Regions from separate parts of the Homo sapiens genome. Here regions 1, 2, 3 and 5 are each linked to region 4. Evidence: promoter capture Hi-C in 16 types of primary human blood cells and fetal thymus (Javierre and others, 2016). All regions are on one chromosome and are shown on one strand. Each heading gives the region's core, a stretch centred on a gene start or on the middle of the fragment in contact. The rest is flanking DNA. Distances are from core to core; before and after follow the strand shown.

Region 1 (2,700 bases), core at 155-2,654, 360 kb after region 4:
TGGCCTTGGGATGCCACTCAGATCTCTGGGGCAAGTGCCACTGGTTGTCCTGTACAGGAGAAGAGTACTGCAGGAGCTGAAAGGAAGCAAAGCACAAAAGAACAGGAAAAGATGTCTTCATCTCCTGCTTGGCCCTCTAGCGCCCTCTATGGGTGAAGATTAACATCATGCCCAACTGGCAAAGGAGAAATGTTCACAGGGTCCAGCTCCAGCATCACAAATAGGACAAAGGGGTGGGTGTGGAGCTGAAAATAAAGAAACTGATAACTGGCATACCCCTTTTCTCTGAAAAAGGATTGAGGAGGACTCCTAAGGTGAGAAGACTAGTTATAAAATTATATTTACAGAGTAAAGACAAATTTATTTGTCAAGGAGGAAGAAAATGTATGGATATAAAGTAGAACTATTTACAACAGAACTTTCTCATACAGTTCTCATCAAAAGACACTAATAGAAGTGTAGGTATAGGAGGTATAGGAGGTTTGAGTCTGAGTCTCAAAGATGTGCCAATGCCAAAACAAGGCAAGGGCAAGATAAATAAGATGGAGAGAGGCGTGGAAGATTGGCTCATGGGAGCAGACTCAATGCACTGTTGAGATTAGTGTTCAGTCTAGTAAAGTCTGAGTTGACCCCAAGTTGTAAAAAAAGACTGTAATGCTATTATTACAATAGCAATTGTAAATGCTTACAATTAGATTTCTGTCACAAGTACTGAAGTTGTAGATTTTGGGGGGCAGGAGGGAGAGAAAGGGAGGATGAGAGAAAGAATGGCTTTCAAAGTCAAATAAAGCAAGCTTTCAAAGTCTAGTCTTTGTAGATATTCAAAACTTTGCAATCAACATATTATTACTAGAAATAATTAACTGAAGCAACATTTGGATACAGAAATTCATTCATCCGTCTGTAAAGGACCAAATCACTCCCCTTCTTGAAATCTATAATTTGAAAAAAAATTTAATTCAATATAGTCCATAGGTTCAGAGGAAGAAAAAGTATAAAAAAAACAAGAAAAAAATTTTTAAATCGAAATTTGTATCCAAGGAAAAAGGTGCTTGGTTTACCCAGGAATTTATAATTTGTAAAGTCACACCTAATACCTATGCTCTGGCACACCCAAATACCTTTTATTAATTACTTGGTTTTCCTCAGTAAGAATTAACATGCTTCTCTCTGTTAGAAAAGTTTGAGAAAGGGAAATTGCATTGCTCTTTGTTATAGTTGTGTTTTGTTTTGTTTCGTTATTTGAGACAGCATCTCCCTCTTTCATCCAGGCTGAAGTGCCATGGCATGATCATGGCTCACTGCAACCTCGACCTCCCGGGGCTCAAGAGATCCTCCCACTTCAGCCTCTTGAATAACTGGGACTGCAGATGTGCGCCATGACACTTGCCTAATTTTTATATTTTTTGTAGAGATGGGGTTTCGCCGTGTCACCCAGGCTGGTCTTGAACTCCTGGGCTCAAGTGATCTGCCTGCCTCAGCCTCCCAAAGTGCTGGGATTACAGGCATGAGTCACTGAGCCCAGCCTACTGTTATATTTATTTTTGTGTCGGTTTGAGGCTGCCCAGATTCACATTGTTTCTGGGGTCGTCTGTGAGGGTGTTTCCAGAGGAGATTAACATTTGAATTGGACTTAATAAAGTAGATTGCTATTCTCAATGCAACTGGGCATCACCCAATCTGTTGAAGGCTTGAATAGAACAAAAATAGAGGAAGGACAGATTTGCCTCCCTTTTCCCCTGCCTCACTGCTTGAGTTGGACATCTCCTCTCATCTTCTCTTGCCCTCAAATTGGATTTACGTGATCAGTTGCTCTGGTTCTCAGGCCTTTGAACTCAGACTGAATTACACTTTCCTGAGTTTCTAGCTTGCAGAGGGCAGATCGTGGGACTTCTCAGCCCCAATTATCTTGTGAGCCAATTCCTTACAATAAATAAATACATACATACATACACAAATAAATTATTTGTCCTGTGTCTCTCAAGAACCCTGACTAATAGGGTATCCAAGCTTTTCAGTCTTATCTCCTATGACTAATTAATGTGCCTCATGCTACATGCAAATTGAGCTGCTTGTTATTTTTAAACATGTCATTGAATTAGGAATTATTTCAAACGTTCAGAAATGTGCTTCCATGTGTTCATTCAGCATTTATTATTGTTATTTAAAATATTCATTCATTTATTTATTTATAGATTTAGGGGGTACAAGTACAGATTTGTTACACTGATAGATTGCATAATGGTGAAATCTGGGTTCTTAGTGTAACCATCACCCAAGTAGAGTTCATTGTACCTGTCAGGTAATTTCTCAATCCTCGGCCCCCTTCTGCCCTCCATCTTTCTGAGTCTCCAGTGTCCATTATTCCACTTTCTATGTCCATGTGTACACATTATTTAGCTCCCATTTATAAGTGCGAAAATGTGATATTTGACTTTCTGGGTTATTTCACTTAAGATAATGGCCTCTAGTTCTATCTATGTTGCAGCAAAAGATACGATTTCATTCTTTTTAATGGCTGAATAGTATTCTATGGTGTATATATGTGTATACAGACATACACACACACCCCTCCAATCATTCGTTGATTAACCTAAGACACTTAGGTTAATCCCATATTTTTGCTACTGTGAATAATAGTGTTGTGATAAATACATGCATTCAGGTATATTTTTTATATAATGATCTATTTTCCTTTGG
Region 2 (2,500 bases), core at 1-2,500, 310 kb after region 4:
CTAGGAGTCTTATTTCTAAGGATTAAGCTCCAGTGTTCCTTTGGAATGGAACTGGTTTATTCACATATGGCATTCTGGGCTCACTTTAGAAATAGCTATGGAAGAGACTGACCCAAGTCATGGTAGTAATGAGATTAAGTATATTTCTTAGTGGTTCTGAAATTTTTTGGGGTCACCCTATAAGAATCTGATGATTCCTTTTAGAAAAATGCAGTCATGCAAAACTTTGCACAGCTGACCGCCTGCAGGTTTTTCATGGGCCCACATTAAGAGACCTTGGTGATTAAGCCTGTGAGAGGATAAAACTGGGTGTGGGGGTTAGGGAGATAGGTATGTATGTGTTTTCTTCCTAAAAATGTGTCAAGGAATTTTTAGACATAACCTGATCTAGGACTTTAAAAATAAAATAAAATTAAAGTACACACTGGTACTTGTGTCAGAACTATTGCTTGCGTTTCCTCCCAGGAGAAGCTTCTTAAAAGACCCCCAAATGCCTGTCTTATATTCCTAGCAAAAAGTCTGGAAGGATATGCAGTGGTTATCTGTGAGTGATGGAATGATAGAATTAAAAGAAGAAAAAAGAATTTATTTCTTTTGCTTTTGATTACCTAAAGTATCTAATCTTTAAAAATAAACAGGTTATAGGAAAAATAGCTATTTTTAAGTTTTCAAAAGCCAAATAGCAATGTTTTTAAAATGTAGTAATAGAATGCAGTTAAACTCTATTCTTACCTATTAGGTGATAAATAAGCATTTTCTAGAGTTTATTTCCTATCTAATTTACTGATTCCTTTTCATTTCATAGGCCTCATTCACACTTGCTTTCCTGGGGTTACAGTCAGCTGATCCTTCATCTAATTAAACTTCCTGCAGATTTTATAACCAAAGAGAAAATGACAGACATCTGCAGGTCTTGTGGGTAAGTGAGAATTTTTTAGAAACTGAAGTTAAGGTTAGAAACATTTCAGTTAACAACTTTATAGTTAAGGGTCTGAATTAATACACATTAATATTTGGGGATTCTCTTTGCTATTTAAAAGTACCTTTTTGTTTTAAGTGATAGTAAATTAAACATCTTTTTTCCATTTAAATTTCTTGCTTTTTTCTTTTTTTTTTTTTTTTAAATAGCCTTAGCTAATTCCCCTCCACTCCCTCTGCTTAGTTGCCAGCCCCAGTTCTCAGGCATGTAGATAGTATTTAATTAAGCACCAGATTATGTGATACCAATTATAATTGATAGACTTTTATAATTAATACAGTAAGAGAGAGATCAAAATGGGCTCAATAGCATCGCTGGTGAAGGACTCAAGGAGGAGGTGAGATTTTGGAGGTAAAACCTAAAACCTGGGTAGGATTTGTATTTATAAAGGAGCCAGGAGAGGGTGAGTTAGGTGAGAGAAACAGAGCAAGGGCGTGGAAAACTGGCATTGCTTATTATCCATGTCACACTTCAGTCAGTTATTTATTGCCTGGTGATACTGGCTTATGGCTCCAACTGGATTATAATCTTTTGGAGATAGCAACTTGTGTCTTTCTTTTCCCTCATAATGTCTATATCTAATTTGTATAGTGGTAGGCACTTGATACATATTTGTTCATTGTAATGAGGGCTGAGTCTGGCCAGGTGGTGGGTGACAAGATCATGCAGGACCTTGAAAGCTGGTAGAATAATTTAGTTATCAGTAGAGACCCTTTTAGACTGAACTACTTGGTGCAAAAATTGTGTAATGAAAGTGGAGCTTTCTAGAGATCATTTCTGATGTCATATATGAGAAGGCTGGAGACAGAAGGCCAGCTAGGAAGCTGTTGGAGTAATTCAGATATGAGTGGATTGGTGATTAGTAGGGCAGCAAAAGGAGCACATCCAGTGGGCATTTCAAAGGAAAATGCAGTGGGACATGCTGATACTGGATATAGCAAATGAAGGAGGGGGAAGAGTCAAGGAAGACTTCCAAGGTTTACATATTTGGAGAAGAAATATGCTAGGTTTGTGTTGAATTTTAAAGTTTATAAATTGAATAAAGCTTAAATGCCTTATAATTGGAGCTTGGCCTCAAATGTCAGCATTTGTTGCTAGGTTTTTTGTTTTTTTTTTTTCCCTAGATCAGGGTCATCTAATAGAACTTTCTGTGATAGTGGAGATATTCTACTGAACTGTCCAATGGTGGCCACTAGCCACATGTAGCCATTGACTACTTGAAATGTGAATATATTAACTGAAAAACTGACTTTCAGATGTTATTTACTTTTAATTAATTTAAATTGAAATAGCCACATGTGACTGTGTCTACTGTTTTGGGCAGCACAGCTCCAGATAAATTCATGGCCTTTTATTCCTTTCTTCAACTTCGGTCTCTTTAAAGTTTCTGGCCTGGATATCTAATTCTCTGTTTGGAGCTGGAGAGAAGAAGAGAGGCCTTCACCAATATTGTGTATCTGAATGATATGAGCCTGATGGAAGGGGACAATGGTATGTCAATCCTAACTGGTTACTCTTGGT
Region 3 (2,700 bases), core at 136-2,635, 500 kb after region 4:
AGGGGAAGCAGGCACCTTATTCACACGGTGGCAGGAAGGAGAAGTGCGAGCAGGGGAAATGCCAGACGCTTATAAAACTATCAGATCTCATGAGACTCACTCATTATCATGAGAACAGCATGGGGGAAACCACCCCCGTGATTCACTTACCTCCACCTAGTCTTGCCCTTGATACGTGGGGATTATGGGGATTGCAATTCAAGGTCAGATTTAGGAGGGGACACAGAGCCAGACCATATATCAAGTGGCATGGCTGGATCATACGGTAGGTGTATGCTTAACTTTTTAAGAAACTTTCAATTTGTTTTCCTAAGCAGTTTTTTACCATTTTACATAACCACAAGCAGTGTATGAGACATAATTCCAGGTCCAATTTCTCCTCAACCTCACCAACACTTAGTATGGTCAGTCTTCTTAATTTTAGCCATGCTAATAAGTATGTAATGATAGCTCATTGTGATTATAATTTGGACTTCCTTAATTCCTAATGATGAGCATCTTTTCATGTGTTTATTTGTACTCTGTGTATCTTTTTTGGTGAAGTACCTGTTTGAATCTTCTGCCTGCTTTTTAATTGTGTTGTTTTCTTACATTTTCTTCTAAAAGTTTTATAATTTTAGGTTTTACATATAAGTCTGTGATCCATTTTGAGTTGATTTTTGTATAGTATATGGTGCAAGGATGGATGAAGTTTATTTTTTTGCTTATGGATATTTAATTGTTCAAGTTCATTTGTTGAAAAGACGATCCTTTCTCCACTAATTGCTTTTGTGTCTTTGTCAAAAATCAGTTGTCCACATACTTTATAGTTTGAAATCTTTTCTTTTTAAAGATAGACATCAAGCACTATAGAATTTTCCCTAAATATTTATGCTTTACCAGTATTCCACAATTTCTGATATGCTGTGTTTACAATTTTTTTTGAGACAGAGTCTCGCTCTGTATTTTTTGTAGAGATGGGGTTTTGCCATGTTGGCCAGGCTGGTCTTGAACTCCTGGCCTCAAGTGATCCCCCTGCCCCGGCCTCCCAAAGTGCTGGGATTACAGGCGTGAGCCACCATGCCCGCAGAAGTTCAGAATACTTTCTAATATTCTTTACTTTTTCTTTGGTTTATAGGTAAGTTTCAAATATTTGGGAATGTTTCAGTTATCTTTCTCTTGCTGTGGTTGGTGAACACTGAATCCTTTTAAATGTGTTGAGATTTGTTTTATAGCCCAGAATATGGTTTTAAGTAAACCTGAAATATTTACCATGTTGACTTAAAAAGCATGTGTGTTCTGCTGTTGCTGGGTGGAATATCTTATTCTCAATGTCAGATCAGGTTGGTTGAGAGTATTGTTCAGATCTACTTTCTATTCTACAATTATTGATAAATTATGGTTAAACAAATTTTTTTAAAAAGAAATAAAACCTGTGTTTTAAATGAACTCTTAGGGTGAAAGTCTCAGTTTTAAAATTGAGAAAACAGCGCTACTGTTTGAAGGAGGTTATTGGTGCAGGGCAAAGTCATGTTCTTTGGCCTCCTTTTGCTCCCTTACAAGAGGTGCCCTTGAGGCACCACTCAGAACTGAGCTCTCCACTGACAATTGAGGTCCCTGGCGCAAAGTCTGGTGAGTTTATATCTCAGTCTTGTCGCCTATCGTTCTGTAACCATGAATTCAGTGTGCGAGGACCAGAGACCTCCAGATACTTCCTGCACTTTCACGTGTCCATGGGCACTATTCATGCCGCTCTGCTTAGAATGGCTTCCAGCTGGCAAAATCCTTCTCATTGTTTATGGCCCGGCTTCAATGTCACCTCCTCTGTGATGCCACCCCAGACACTCCAGTCAGAATTAACCTGTCTTGTTTTGGTGTTCCCACAGAATTGCTTCACTCTGTTACATGTGTCCTCTGATGGATTTAAATTCCTTCTCATCAAAGCATAATGTCACCCCTTCTGAAATGCCTTCTTTTCAATGTCATGTCTAAAGTAGCCCGCTTTATCTTGGTTTCTAGCACATATCTTATTTTCTTTGTAGCATTTAGAAATTGTGTAGTTTAGTTGTTTTATATTTATTGTTTGTTCATTTCTTTAGAATGAAAATTCCATGGGACTGAGCCCTTATTTAGCTTGTTCACTGATGTATCCCCAGAACCTAAAACAGTGCCTATTAGGTTTTTCAGAAAATATTTGGGGAGTAATGAATGAATAGATGAATACCTGAGAGGTAGCATGTTGTGCTGGTTAAGAACATAGTCTCGCTGGGTACTTGCCTGTATTCCCAGCTATTTGGGAGGCTGAGGCAGGAGGATCACTTGAGCCCAGTAGTTGGAGGCTGCAGTGAGCTATGATAATGCCTGTGAATCTGTGAATAGCCACTGCTCCAGTATGGACAGGATAGCAAGACCCCCATCTCTTTTAAAAAACAAGACCATAGGCTCAAATCAGACTCATGGGTTCAAATCCTAGCTTTGCTCTGCTGAGACTGTATAATCTTGGGCAGGTTGCTACACTTTTTAAACTTCAGTTTGCTTATGAGTGTAATGGGGCTAACAATGATAACTAGTTGATAGAGTTGTTTTGAGAATTAAATGAGATAGCATGCAAGCCACTTCACTGTGCCTGGCATTTAATACTTGTTCAATGAATGTTAATTTTATTACTGTTGGTGTTGATATTGTTAGGCCACCCTTGTGCTACTCCAGGAATTACCATTA
Region 4 (2,700 bases), core at 5-2,504:
CAGTGGGTAACCACTCTGTGTGGTGACCAGAAGGGCTGCTAAAAGGTCCCACCAATCCCTACCGTCCCCCTTCCTACCAATAACCACTGATCCACTTGGCCTGCAATCCGCAAGTCAAATACGGTCTCCAGCAGACCCCTTGCAAATTCCATAGTGCTTTGAAACAAGTACAGCTATATATGCAAGGGAGGGGGAAACAAAAAAAGACTTAAAAGGATGTCCTGGCCGGGCGCAGTGGCTCACGCCTGTAATCCCAGCACTTTGGGGAGCCGAGGCAGGCGGATCACGAAGTTAGGAGATCTAGACCATCCTGGCTAACACAGTGAAACCCCGTCTCTACTAAAAATACCAAAAATTAGCCAAGCATGGTGGTGGGAGCCTGTAGTCCCAGCTACTCGGGAGGCTGAGGCAGGAGAATGGCATGAACCCAGGAGGCAGAGCTTGCAGTGAGCCGAGATCGCACCACTGCATTCCAGCCTGGGCGACAGAGCAAGACTCCGTCTCCAAAAAAAAAAAAAAAAAAAAAAAAAGGATGTCCCCAGCCAGGCGTGGTGGCTCATGCCTGTAATCCCAGCACTTTGGGAGGCCGAGGTGGGTGGATCACCTGAGGTCAGGACTTTGAGACCAGCCTGACCAACATGGAGAAACCCTGTTTCTACTAAAAACACAAAATTCGCCAGGCGTGGTGGTGCATGCCTGTAATCCCAGCTGCTCAGGAGGCTGAGGCAGGAGAATCGCTTGAGCCTGAGAGGCGGAGGTTGCAGTGAGCCGAGATCGCGCCACTGCACTCCAGCCTGGGCAACAAGAGCAAAACTCCATCTCAAAAAATAATAATAATAATAAATAAAAAATAAAAAAGGATGTCCCTAGTGGGATGGGAAGTAGCCCGGTAGCCTGGGACACTAACTTTGTTCCCATCACATTCTGACTTCCAGTTAGTGGTGAGACCTCAACTATCTTTCCCATTTGGTCAGAAAACCCAGACAGGAAGATGAGCCAGCACAGGACTGACCACCAGGGATTTACAGGCAGAGCCATTACTTACCATCAACTCTGGAAACGTGCCCATGTAACACACAAGTCCAACAAAAAACATCCAGCCAAGCACAATCATGATCAAACGTAAAACAATTTCTAAGATAAAATTGCACAGTGAAAGACTATTCACCAAGATCTTGGCAAAGGAGTGCGCTCACGAAACCTTCAGTTGGTAGAGGTCTCGCATGTCTGTTCGAGTCTTTGGCTCCAAAGGATCCACAACTCCCTAGTGGAGAAGCTGAAATCTAGTAGGGCATTGTGACATCATTGACCATATGGCCCAGACTCAAAACACACCAGAGACACTGCCCCCAGACCAGCAGCTGAGCAGCAAACAGCAACACTATGAAGTAGGCATTATTGTTAACCCCATTTCACTAATCAGAAAACTAAGGCTTAGACTACAGCCTAAGTGACCCGCACTACAGCACATAGCTGATGCTCCAGATCAGGGCCAAGACTTAGGACTCAGCTGCCTCTTGGGCAGCTGGGCTCTTTACACTAGAGGCAGAGATTTGGAAAGGTGTTTTGCTGCTAGGTGTACGACATGTGAACGAAACAAACTGAATTACAGGTAAATGAGACAGATGTCTCTATTTCTGTCCCTGCAAAACCTCCTCTCCCCATGTCAAGGGGATCCTCAGCATGATGGTATATCCACATCTTCATCACCTTGGATTAGTTCCTCTCCATTGATTCTCTTTTCTTGGCCATCATGAAGCCACAGGTACCCCTGTCCTTTCCTCAAAAAAACTTCCAGATGATACTGTGGCTCCTTCCCTGTCTTATTTCTTAATTTCCTTTTATGACCAAACTTCCTAAACAAGTGGTCCATACTCAAAGCTTTTTCCAATCTACGCCTCTTCCATGCATTACATTCTGACTTCTAGCCCCACCCCACTATTAGACACCCTCTCAGAGGTCACCAAAGATATTTTTTGCTTTTCTGCTACAACATCATGGACATTTAATGTATTTTTCATCTCTACAATTTTTTTTTTTTTGAGACAGAGTCTTGCTCTGTCGCCCAGGCTGGAGTGCAGTGGTGCAATCTCAGCTCACTGCAACCTCCGCCTCCTGGGCTCAAGTGATTCTCCTGCCTCAGCCTCCCAAGTAGCTGGGATTAGAGGCACCCGCCACCACGCCTGGCTAATTTTTGTATTTTTAGTAGAGATGGTGTTTCACCATGTTGGCCAGGCTGGTCTCGAACTCCTGACCTCAGGTGATCCACCCGCCTCAGCCTCTCAAAGTCCTGGGATTACAGGCATGAGCCACCGCGCCTGGCCTGTTGTGATATTTCCTGCTTCTTTAAATGTCTTACAACTTTTGATTAGATGTTGAACATGGTAAATTTTATTGCCGAGTGCTGGATTTTGTTGTATTCAACAGTGTTAAATTTTATTCTAAGGTGCACTTAAGTTACTTGCGATCAGTTTGATTCTTCTGAGGCTTGTTTGAAGCTTTATGATAGGCCAGGAGCAGCCTTTACTCTAGGGTTAATATCCGCACTGCTGAGTTAATGACCATTTTCTCTGAGCACCTTCTCTGAGGCTGATTGTATTAGAGCTTTTTTTTTTTTTTTTTTTTTTTTTTGGAGACAGAGCTTTGCTCTTGTTGCCCAAGCTGGAGTGCAAGGGCGTGATCTTGGCTCACTGCAACCTC
Region 5 (2,700 bases), core at 169-2,668, 480 kb after region 4:
CCTGTGGACTTTTGGGCTTTTCTGATTTTTGTTTTTCTAATTCCTAATAGAATTAAGCCTTAGTATTCTCCTCTTCTACTTAAATTAATTGTAACTTAAAAGAATGGAGGTGTCTTGGGCCTCTCAATCAGCCTGGTCACACAAGGTTATCAGAGTAGTGCTACCATCTGATTTACTGTTCAATCCAGGCCATTGTAGACAATGAAAAGATGTGCCACTATTAAGCTTGGACAATAGACACTGATCTCATGCAAACCAGCACACGTAGTCACTTGTAAGAGACTGTTGGAAAATCCCTTTAAGGCCTGGGGACTCTGATATCATGACAGGAAATCTTTCTTTTTCAGGAGAAACAAGTGAAAAGAACTGACTGCCGTTATTGTCTATTATTCTCAGCTTGGCACCATAAGAAACTGCGTGTACCTTCCCGGAAGGCAGAATACATTAAGTAACAAAGGAAGAAAACAGGCAAGGCTTGTCAAAGTCCCTGTGAGGAGTTCCTCTTGGTATCTAGAAATCATACTCGCTTTCTTGCTCTTTTTCCTGTGAGTCAGTGTGTCACTTTGTCACCCAGGCTAGAGTGCAGTGGTGTGATTATGGCTCACCATAGCCTCCAACTCCTGGGCTCAAGCAGTCCTCCTGCCTCAGCCTCCTGAGTAGCTGGGACCACAGGTGCATACTACCACACCCCGCTAATTTAAAAAATATATATACAGATATATAGTGGAGATGGGGTCTTGCTATGTTTCCCAGGTTGGTCTTGAGTTCCTGGCCTCGAGTGATCCTTCTGCCTCAGCCTCCCAAAGTGCTGGTATTATAAGCATGAGCCAGTGTCTCCACGCCACTTGCTTTCTAATACTTCTGTATTAGTCCGTTCTCATACTGCCATAAAGAAATGACTGAAACTGGGTACTTTATAAAGAAAAGAGGTTATATTGGTTCATGGTTCTTTAGTCTGTACAGGAAGCATAGTGGCTTCTGCTTCTGGGGAAGCCTCAGGAAACTTTCAATATGGCAAAGGCAGAGCGGGAGTGAGGCATCTCATATGGTGGGAGCAAGGACAAAAGAGAGTGAGGGGGGAGGTACTGCACACTTTTAAATAACCAGATCTCAAAAGAATTCACTCACTATCACGACGACAGTACCAAGGGGGATGCTGTTAAACCTTTCATGAGAAACAGCCTTCCTGATTCAATCACCGCCCTCTAGGCTCCACTCCCAACATTGGGAATTACAATTGAACATGAAATTTGGGTGGGGACACAGATCCAAACCATATCAACTTCTATCAAAGAAGAGAATGACTTGAATAAAACGAGAAAGTAGATTTCCAGCATTGAATGGTTCCAAAGGGAGTAAAATAATTGTGACAGGATGTGATCATTGGCCCTCAATTTCTGCCTGAAGAAGAGTAGGAAAAAGGAGGTCTGGACATCACATGCCCTGCTTTATGAAGCAGCTCCTCCAAGTACACCATGACCAGTGGCTGTGGATGGTTGACAACTCCCCTCCTCTTCCCCCTCTTCTACTGTCTACTCCTGGGACCAAGTGAGCCACGCCAGCTCAGATACTACACTGACCACAGGGAATCCCACCTTTTCCAAGGAATGGAAGTTGTGTAGGGAATATTCAAATGTTGCTTAGCATTGCCTTAGATAAGAACCAAAGGGACAGGGAAATCCTCTGACAGCTATCTGCCTTATAACTTTCATTTTACTGTGCCTAAAATATGCTCAGAACCCAGAAAGAGGCATAATTCCTAATTTTGGCAGGCTCTAATCTAAAATAATGATTCTCAAACATGGTGTGACTTTTGTCTATTTGCTTTATCCTGGGTCACTGCTCCTCTTCTGTCAGATACTGGGATTCCAATGAGACAAATGGAAATGGAGACGTAGACCCTCTGACCTTCTATCTTTTATCTATACACATACACCTGTGTGTGTGTGTGTGTGTGTGTGTGTGCGTGTGTAAAACCGAGTGGGTTTTTTTCTTGGAATGAAAGAATGGACTAACATTACAAAAAATAAAAACTTGAAACAGAATGTGTATTATCCTTGGTTGTGTTTCCTTGGCCCTGCAGCAGGATGAAGCTCTCCACTGGCATCATTTTCTGCTCCCTGGTCCTGGGTGTCAGCAGCCAAGGATGGTTAACATTCCTCAAGGCAGCTGGCCAAGGTGAGGTCCACAGGATAGGGGGCAGGAGGCTGCTTCTGGCTGCCCCCAGGATGCAGCTGAGCAGAGGCCACATCCCCACTGGGCAAAGGTGCTAGTGATGCCACAGATGGATAGAGAAGGGGCATGGTTTTTCATAAGCGTGGTTCCTCATGCTTTTCTGGACAGCTTTGACACTCTTCTATGAGGATCCTCCAGCCGAGGTCGCATAAGGTGTGAGCTGCCTCTTTTCAGCAGGACCATGAGAGAGATGTGGAGTTGAGGGGTGCATGTTCCCATAATACCGGTGGGGCTCTACTGCCCCCTAGTGGGAAATCTGGGACAGTTCATGTCTATGTCTCCTGGGAAGCCAGGAAGCAGGTGGATCAAAAGTGTGAGGCGAGTCCATGGGGAAGCTGAACGGAGCCAACCGTCCCCATAAAAACAACCAAGCTTAGCTGAGATTTTAATACGTACTAGGCACTGTTTAAATGTACTAATGAATTGGTTTCCATCATTTAGTCCTATGATGCAAGCAGCATTATC

What was found. Contacts are between HindIII fragments. The CHiCAGO score rates a contact against its expected background, and 5 or more counts as called.
Region 1: a fragment that was not itself captured here is called in contact with the fragment with the promoter of MISFA in region 4 in 1 of 17 cell types (megakaryocytes); the score reaches 5.1 in megakaryocytes.
Region 2: a fragment that was not itself captured here is called in contact with the fragment with the promoter of MISFA in region 4 in 1 of 17 cell types (erythroblasts); the score reaches 5.5 in erythroblasts.
Region 3: a fragment that was not itself captured here is called in contact with the fragment with the promoter of MISFA in region 4 in 3 of 17 cell types (total B cells, total CD4 T cells and naive CD8 T cells); the score reaches 6.8 in total B cells.
Region 5: a contact is called between a fragment that was not itself captured here and the fragment with the promoter of MISFA in region 4, in 1 of 17 cell types (total B cells). The highest score is 7.9, in total B cells.

The regions. Positions count from the first base shown.
Region 1 is chr11:18,241,391-18,244,090 of GRCh38, reverse strand. All of the region lies in intron 3 of SAA2-SAA4 (SAA2-SAA4 readthrough), which reads left to right. It also overlaps a transcript of SAA2 not described here. Among named protein-coding and RNA genes, the nearest start is that of SAA2, 5.9 kb to the left of the region's middle. RefSeq lists a silencer at 1-289 and an enhancer at 15-309. The HindIII fragment of the contact is 1,216 bases long and covers 797-2,012 here.
Region 2 is chr11:18,283,765-18,286,264 of GRCh38, reverse strand. HPS5 (HPS5 biogenesis of lysosomal organelles complex 2 subunit 2) reads left to right here. Exons shown (of 23, transcript NM_181507.2): 20 at 806-919; 21 at 2,364-2,470. Among named protein-coding and RNA genes, the nearest start is that of SAA1, 19 kb to the right of the region's middle. The HindIII fragment of the contact is 1,553 bases long and covers 474-2,026 here.
Region 3 is chr11:18,098,817-18,101,516 of GRCh38, reverse strand. All of the region lies in intron 2 of SAAL1 (serum amyloid A like 1), which reads left to right. Among named protein-coding and RNA genes, the nearest start is that of SAAL1, 5.9 kb to the left of the region's middle. The HindIII fragment of the contact is 8,611 bases long and covers 1-2,700 here.
Region 4 is chr11:18,598,343-18,601,042 of GRCh38, reverse strand. MISFA (mitochondrial sheath formation associated) reads right to left here and starts at 1,254. Exons shown (of 4, transcript NM_001355570.4): 1 at 1,046-1,254. The coding sequence starts at 1,114. It overlaps LOC112268073 (a long non-coding RNA gene), which reads left to right and starts at 1,496. Exons shown (of 4, transcript XR_002957242.2): 1 at 1,496-1,612. The HindIII fragment of the contact is 4,225 bases long and covers 1-1,883 here.
Region 5 is chr11:18,115,464-18,118,163 of GRCh38, reverse strand. It overlaps the pseudogene SAA3P. Among named protein-coding and RNA genes, the nearest start is that of SAAL1, 11 kb to the right of the region's middle. The HindIII fragment of the contact is 2,382 bases long and covers 228-2,609 here.